Linked DNA regions of Homo sapiens: region 1 is linked to region 2. The links are contacts of gene promoters, found by promoter capture Hi-C in human tissues and cell types (Jung and others, 2019). All regions are on one chromosome and are shown on one strand. The core of a region is centred on a gene start or on the middle of the fragment in contact, and the rest is flanking DNA. Distances in the headings are between cores, read along the strand shown. Region 1 has its middle 65 kb from the start of SPAG17. Region 2 holds the start of TBX15 (T-box transcription factor 15).

Evidence for each region. The method cuts DNA at HindIII sites, captures the fragments that hold promoters and counts their contacts. A contact is called where the count stands out against the background at its distance.
Region 1: a fragment that was not itself captured here is called in contact with the fragment with the promoter of TBX15 in region 2 in 2 of the 25 tissues and cell types used here (H1 embryonic stem cells and mesendoderm cells).

The regions. Positions count from the first base shown.
Region 1 is chr1:118,248,340-118,252,587 of GRCh38, reverse strand. No RefSeq gene overlaps it. Among named protein-coding and RNA genes, the nearest start is that of SPAG17, 65 kb to the right of the region's middle. The HindIII fragment of the contact is 5,287 bases long and covers 1-4,248 here.
Region 2 is chr1:118,985,386-118,989,592 of GRCh38, reverse strand. TBX15 (T-box transcription factor 15) reads left to right here and starts at 1,250. Exons shown (of 8, transcript NM_001330677.2): 1 at 1,250-2,002. The coding sequence starts at 1,798. RefSeq lists enhancers at 1,317-1,849, 1,850-2,383, 3,703-4,207. The HindIII fragment of the contact is 7,773 bases long and covers 1-4,207 here.

The sequences.
Region 1 (4,248 bases), core at 1,063-3,562, 740 kb after region 2:
TTTAATTTTATTTAGTTTTGTAAAATATTTTTAATTTTAATTTTTCTGGGTACATAGTAGGTATGTATAATTATGAGGTCCGTGAGATGTTTTAATATGGGCATGGCATGCACAATAATCACATCACGGAGAATGGAGTATCCATCCCCTCAGCGTTTATCCTTTGTGTTACAAACAATCCAATTATACTCTTGTAGTTCTTTTAAGCCACCCCGAATTTTAGAACAACAGAAATTAAGGCACTAAAAGTAATGATAGTTTGCACAAAGACAGAAAGTGGGGAAAAGTCTAAAACCTGGCTTTCTTGCCTCATAAACCAACTGTCTCTTCCAACCTTACTGCTTCCTGCATTTTCTCTGATGCTTATTCTTGAAACAGCTACATGCTGTTTGAGGCTTACTTTTGTAACTGGCAAGAAGGGAGGAGGATGTTAGCGTCATACCATGCTCAGTAACACACATTAAATTTAATCTTCCTGTGAACCTTTTTTCCTACTTTTATACAATCAGGTTGATAATATTGATAATACTATCTAAGGAGATGACTAAAGCACTCACAAACACAAGCTAGTGCTCACAAATACGGTGTATTAAAATGTAGCACCTTTCTTATATATACATATAATGCTTTCTTATACTCCTATTCTATTAAATCAGTTTTTCAGATCCCCATCCCCTTGTAATAAACGTAGCCTTCTCCTGATTTGAGTCTCCCATAAATGGGAGGCTCAAGCATCAAGGGCTCTAGGATCTGGCAGGGCTCTGAAGAACCATACAAGCTAAGTCCTCCCCTCCACACTGTCCTGGACAAGGCAACAGAGGTCCAGACACTTCACATGGCATGGGAAACGACATGGCCAGTTCCTGTTTTTTGCATCCAGGACTTCCCATAGGAACCCCAGTGTCTGGCATAATAACTTGGAACACTGAGGCAGGACTTGGTGACACACCTGATATTTGTCCTCTTTATTACTGACTGATTAGACACTAAATCCCTATAACCCCGAGGCTTTAGACATCTTTAGAAATGTCTGCATGTTCTTTTGTCACTACACATATTCCTTCATCCTTAGGGGAGCTATACCCATGTAGAAGCAACCAGAGTCATGGTGGTTATGAACACAAGGGAGTTGTAGGGGACCCTTACTGGGACAGATGTGGAGAGCTGAGTGGCTGAGTTTGCTCTTGCTCCTCCTAAGAAGCTGTGTAAGAAAGACCTCCCTCTCTAATGGGTCGGAGAAGGAAATTTGAAGCCTTGCTCCTGGGAAGGTGACGCTCACTCCTCAGACGCTGCACTATCCTCTTCCACAGCAGCTCTGAGAGGCATCATTGTCACAGCTGTATCAGCCCAGCATCAGCACAAACCAGGAGAGGATAAAGAAGCAGGCCATAAGCAGGTCCTCTCCTCTCATTTGCCAAGGGAAGAAAACTGACAGGCATTCCCTGGTGCAGGACAAAGGAGGCATCAGAAGGCCAGGAGCAAGTGGCTCACTCCTGTAATCCCAGCAGTTTTGGAGGCTGAGGCAGGAGGATCACTTACACCCAGGAGTTCGAGACCAGCCTCAGCAAGACCCCATCTCTACAAAAAATAAAAATAAAAAATAGCCAGGAATGGTGGCACATGCCTGTAGTCCCAGCCACTCAGGAGGCTAAGGTGAGAAGGATCCCTTGAGCCCAAGTTCAAGGCTGCAGTGAGTCACGATTGTGCCACTACACTCCAGCCCAGGCAACAGAGTGAGGCCCTAACTTAAAAAAAAAACAACGACAATAAAAAAGTTATAAGTCTAATGTAGCACCATTCTTCCATTGAGCTGGAGAGCTTTGATAGTCATGGAGCTGGGCTACCAAGTTTGTTGTGTTTTATGTATCTGCTCTCAAAATATTTTTGAGAGCTAAGCAGGATTCAAAATTATTATCTTTTTTTGAGGATAAAACAACTAGGAGTGTCTTTCCCCCTTCTCCACTCAGGAAATTCCTCTTAATTCCTTACAATTCAGCTCATTGTTAAGGACCTCTGGGATGCATTGTCAAATTCCCCTACACAATCTTCTGAAAGGAATGAGTCTCTTTCCTGTGTGCTCCCACGACATTTGGCATACTCCTCAGTGGCAGTGCTGTCCGGTGGGGTGCTAATTATTTGCTTTTCAAGGCTATTTCCTCAAACTGTGCTTCTCTCCAGAGCAGGGGTCAGGTTTCCTTTATCTTCGTAGGCTCTTCCCCTCCTCACCCACCTACCTTTACCTCCCTACCTCCAAGTCTAGTTTTAAAGCCTGGCATATCAAAGGTACTGAAAGAACAGGAGAAAGAAATAAAAGAAGGAAAGTTAAGTAGCTTACCCAAAGTCACACAGAAAGTCAGCATCAGAGTTCTGACATTTACTGCAGCACTCAATTCTAAACTAGGCTGTCATCAGGCTGATTTGATGGTTCACAAAGAGTGATATATTTTTAAGAATGATTTTACTACTAAAGAAATGAAGAACATACAGCCCAGGCCAGTAACTTTTTAAGTATGATTAGATGATGGCTTATGGGCTCCATCTAAGCTTTAAATCAGGATCATTTTCAGGTCTAATGGAAATTACATGGTGGCTTTGGCTTCACAGGGAAGGAACTTGGAGCTAATCAGCCTCGGGAATGCCACCATCTGAGATGCCAGGGCAAAAACAAAGAAATGCCATCGATTAAGAGTCTCCATCAAGAAAGTTCCAAGGCTGCGAGGCTGCTGAGATGAGATGGGACTGGAATCCTAGCCACAGGCTTAATTGCTTTGCAAGAAGCCACAGCTGTTGCTGCAGGGAAGCGCAGGCAAAATCTTGTTTTCTTACTTTCAACTTTCTGCTGACCTTGTTAGAGATTGCTTCTGAACTGCCTGATGCCCATGCCTATCTCGAATGGTATTTCTTCAGTGTCTCGTGTCTTCTCTTTGCTTTTCCTTCTATGCCCAGCACTTAATGTAGTGCCCGAAATGTAATACTCACTTGAGAAATACCTGTTTGATTAATTAAGCACAAGAAGAAGAGTTTTAATACCAAATGACAGTTCCCTGTCACCCAAGAGCAGTACCCCTTTACTTTTTGAACCAAGATTCCTCTTAGTCCTTTCACTAGAATATAGGAACATGAAGAAAGGAGAAATAGCATAAAAAACATTGGAATTTTCTTCAGTCTATGACTGTGTCTGCATCAAAATTTTCCACCCATATTCCATGACCAAATCAACTGTTTTTGAGACTTCTTTCTTTTCCTCTTGTAAATGACAAGCAATCCTTGAATAACAAATGACTTATCCCACATTTGTAAACTCTCTGGCCTTTGAAATAGCTAAAATGACCTAAGGCCTAACAGAAGAGTGGCATGTATGGACTTTACCAGAAGTTGGACCCATGGGGTAAGATCTAGAGAGTTATTGGCTTAAGTGGTGTTAAGCAGCCTATGATTGGAAAATGAAATGAAATAGAATCCCCTCATAGAATCAAGAATAGACAGGCCTCATCCTAAAATAAACAGGCCAAAGAAGCATGGGTGGCAATGGCCTAATCCTCAAACCTGTTCTTCCCCCTTTATTTCACTTAGGTTTCCAAACATTTGTTTCTGCCTTCTATCTGTAGCCTTAGATCCAAACATGTTTTAAGACTCTCTACTCTTAACATTAAGCAATCTGCTGAACTCCTTGTAAAACTCAGTACAGTAGGAAAAAGCTCTGGTTCATAATGAAAATTTTTGATGACTTTGGTTCTTCTGTGTTGTGAAAGGATTTCTACCACTTTATACATTTGGAAATTGGGGTCATCTTTTCCTTGTAGATGAAAAAAATACACTCTTTAGTATATTGCATAAATAATGTTTTTGCATTCACTTCACCAGCAATACAAAAATATTTTCTCTCTCTCCTCTGGAGCAAAGAAAATGATTGGTTTCACCTGGGTCCTCTGAGCGCTACGGGAACTCCAGTGGTTCCCAATGCTTTCCTGGACACGATACAGGGGAAACTTAAATAAAAGAAATATATTCCTCAGAAATATATTCTCCTATAAGTCTACTACATAATAAAAATAGTAATAAATAGCTTACATTAATATAGCACTTTATAATTTACATCATTAATGTTTTGTCAATTGATCCACATCAAAGGAGCTAACTATAAATCATATGGTGTAGACAGATTTTATGGATGACAAAATTTATGTTCTGCAAGCTTAAGCTACTTGCTAGAGATACACAACTAAGCTGAACAAAATTAAAATTCAC
Region 2 (4,207 bases), core at 1-2,500:
GGCCTCTCAGTCTGTCCCCCGCCCCCGGGACCCAGCTCTTTCCGGCTTCTTTGCAAAAGGATAGAACCGTCTCGACCAGGGCACTAGGACTGGAAGATCGGGCTGTGTCTAGGCCGCTGTCCGCGAAATCCGAGACGTTTTTTCAGCTTGGCTAGGACCGACTTCGCTGCCGGTTTGAGCTTTCTCTGCACTCGGGGGTCTCCTGCCGTCCTCGACCGGTGGCGTAACTTGGGAAGAGGTGTGGGAATTAAGAATGGCCAGGAGCGTTGGATTTTTTAATTCCTTAGAAATCCATGTTGAATGCAGTCCTTAGAGATCGCAAAAGGCAGGGGGCGGCCAGGGGGGAGATCAGCTGGCCGGGAAAGCCATGGTCTTGAGGTAACGGGATTTGCAGGGAATTTTGAAAAAGCTCCTTCTCTTCTGTTAAAGTTCCTAGCTGTTCTTGCCTGTCACCTCTCCATAGGTTCTCTGCAACAAGAGCCCGGAACAGGCGAAGCGCAGCCCAGCGTTCGGGCCGTAGGGAAAGAGAGTATTTGCGGCGTGAGGGGGCCCAGCTGGAATACGCCTGAGGAGCTCGCCCTAAACCCCGCGCTCCGCCGCCCGCCCCTTGCTCTCAAGGCGCCTGTGTCTCCTTCTCCACCAGGTAGAGCTGGAAGGAGGAAGCGGTCTTTGAATTTTCAGTTACAAGACCCTGGTTAGTAACAGGGCTTTCTGTTTGCTTGTTTGTTTGTTTCCTTTTGCCTTACCCAGATTTGCTTAGAAAACGTTCAGTAGGAACATTAAAACCTGTGTGGCGAAATCCAGGAGGAACCAGAATATTCTAAAGCACCTAGGGGCTGACGCGAAATTATCAGAATCGTTTTCTGGCATTTTGGACAGGTTAACATTTTGTCAGAGCCCCAAAATTCCAGATCTGCAACTAAAGTGACTCTGGACTTGCAGCGTCTATGAGACCAGCAGATCTGGAAGAAAAACGTATGGATTTGGGATTTGCAGGAGTTTGTAAAGGCGCAGATCAGACCTCAACTTTCAACTGTCCTACCTCCCTCTTGGAGTAACCCATGGGGAAACCGGGAAGCCAGGGGTTAAAGTCGGCCCAGGAGCATCCAGGGGACGACTGGCGCTGCGCTTTGGCCCGGGCCTCAGTCTCTCCCTTCCTCTCATTGGTTCGCGCTCTCGGAGTTTCTCTTGTTCCCTCCTCGCTATTGGTTGGGGGCTGGCTTTTTTCCCCCTCAGTCTTTTTCTTCCTCCCCCTCCCTCTCCCTCACCCCTCGGACAGGAGCGCACCGCCTGCCCCCTGTTCCTCGGGAAGGGAGGAATTTAGCGGAAAAAAAAGTTTCCCAGAAGTTTGGATCACAGGGAGGACGGGAAGGCAGAGAGGAAGAGAGAGAGAGGGGGAGGAGAGAAAAAGAGAGGGAGGGGAGAGAGAGAGAGAGAGAGAGAGGAGAGAGAATAATAATAATAACAAAAACAAGATGAAGTTCAGTGGACACAGTCTGTGAGCGCCTGCCCCGGTGGGTGGGAAGCAGGACTCGGGCGCTCATGCAGCGAGCGGGCGGCGCTCGGGGCGCTAGTTCCTAGCAGCTGGGCCAGCGTAGGGGCGCAGGTCGGATCCGGCAGAGGAGGGCGGAGGAGGACGCAGGGGGAGGGTGGAGAGACCCGCGAGCCGCAGTCTCAGCCTCGTCCGACGCGCCTCCGCCTCTCCCGGGCCGGGCCCGGTGGGCGCTCAGAGCTTGAGGGCGCCGGCTGCTCCCTCGGTAGCGGGGGCAAGCGGAGGCAGGGGTGTGGGCGGCTAAAATGAGTGAAAGGAGAAGATCTGCAGTCGCCCTGAGCTCGCGAGCACATGCCTTCTCCGTTGAAGCCTTGATCGGCTCAAATAAAAAACGGAAACTGCGAGACTGGGAGGAGAAGGGGCTGGACCTGTCTATGGAGGCGCTGAGCCCCGCGGGCCCACTCGGAGACACGGAGGACGCGGCGGCACACGGCCTGGAGCCTCACCCGGGTGAGTGCGTCGCAGCCGACCGCGGGAGGCGGGCGGAGAGGGGACGCCGAAGGGCCAGTCGCCGGTCGCGGGTGAGGAGCTAGGCCCTGCCATTGACGCCCTGCCTTGCCCCAACATAGGTTTCTGTTTCTTCGCGCAAATGCCCTGAGCCTCCCTAAATTCACCGGAACCAATTTTTGGGGCTGGACTGAGCCTTGCATTTTCGTCGCCAGCCTAAGCAAGGAGTCCTGTTTGTTTGCATTTCTTTTTCTTTTGGGTGGAGAGCGCAGCTTTCTGGGTGTCCGTGGATGAAGGGCTGCCGGTCCCTGGGATTGGGAGGGGCGCGGGCCGAAGGCAACGGCGGGAGCCGAGATCTAGGACTCGCTTCTGAGAACTCGGGAGGACTGGCGCGGCGTTCTCCAATCCAATACCTCAGTCTTCGGGGAATGACCAGTTGTCTCATTTAGCCTTCAACCTCGTCCTTGCCTTTCTCCCACCAACTTTTCGATGGTGGAACATAATTATATTTCTACTCCTTTGGCGTTTACGGAAACAAGAATGGATGTTAGACCCCTTACTCCTTGGGTCACTCTTCAGGGCCCACATCTCTGTGTATTTAGGGTGTGGGTACGATTGATTTGTGTCTCAGATCCTACAGTAACCCATGTATATTATGTGCACGGAACATGTAAAAAGCAGGGGGGATGTCATGTCTGTATTTTAACAGAACCCTAGGAGGGGAGAAGCCAACTTTAACGTTTTGTGTTAAGTGCCAAGATTTCAACTGTGCAAAAACAGCCCGGGGGAACAGCTGTTGTCGGAAGAATCTTGAGTGTGCGCGCGCGCACATACAACGCTCGCAACTTGGTTTAGCGGTTTCAGAAGCTTTCCAGCCCGGACTTCTAAAACCATGCTGGAAGGTGCTCCTGCTGAACAGCCAGAGCTGGGGAGTAGACCCCGCTTCACACGCTGACAAGCCCGGGGAGGGGGCAGCGGCCTGCACTGGGATAGAGACGGTCTGGGGCTCAGGAGCTTGGGGATCTCAGCCACAAAGCTGTCCAACTCAGAGGAGGGACAGCTGTCGCTTACATTTTCTCTTTAGGCAGTGACAGTTCAATTTCCATGCTCCCGAGGCTAATAATAATGCGATTAGCGGGTGACCTGCAGAGATAGAGTTTTATGAATTCTCCGTGTTTTTGTGGCCCGTTACGGTATTTGAGTTTAGTGCTGGGGAATTATTTTTATTAGTCGATGAAAAGAAAATTAAAAGGAGATTTATTTCGACCGTCCAAGCCTTTTCCTGTATTTGAATGCAAGTGCTTGTCCACGCGGACCCCTGCGTGGGCATTCCAGAAAGGCACCCAGGGCTACTGTGTGTTTCCCTTCGCTGGCCAGACCCTATTTCCTCAGCTCATTTATCTATTGTCAAAATCTCGCGTGGGCCTTCATACAGTTAGAAGTTCTTGCAGGGGTTATGACGCCTTAGAATTTGTAAGGTTCTTTTATTTTCCCCACGGCGGAAAAAACAGAAGTTGTTTAGCTGCGCGTGGCAGACGTCCTGTCCCGGGGAAGTTTTCTCTTGGGAGGCCCCAGATCGCACGGAGCCCGTCTAGGGCCTTATGTTCAAATGGGTAATACATGGGGTCATAATTAGAGATTCAGATCAGAGTTTGCTCTTTCTGCCGTTCTCCTTAGCCTGAGCTCCATTCAGGAGGCAGAAGAGAGAAAACTTAGGGAATGAGGCAAAAAGAAACCATTCCAGAGCGTGAACCTGGGGAGCTAAGCTCATGAATTCTATTTACTCGCTCCCGCGGGATGGGGGTGGGGTGGAAGATCTAACAGAACTAACTTTATGTAACAGAGTTCGGTTGGTCATTTCCCATTACGTTATCATTTTTTAAAAAAGAAAAAGATGGGTATTTGGATTAGAGAAAACGAAATATATTTGTGGGGCAAGTGTCTAGGAGGAAGAAGCTGAAAGCCCAGCACCCTCTGGCTTTCTGCGGAGCTGGGCTACAGGCCGGGCCTAGCCTTTTAGTGGGCCGGGGGAATCCTTAAGTTGGAGCCCCCGCAATGGCTAAGCCTTTCTTAACGATTTGCTGATAGGATGAGAAAAGATCTTTTAGTAAAAAGGGCGCCGTGGCGTGGAGACGCGGCGGTCCAGGGAGCAGAAGAGGTGGAGCTGTCGGCTCCAGACTCAGGCGGTAGCGAAAGGCGCGACCAGGG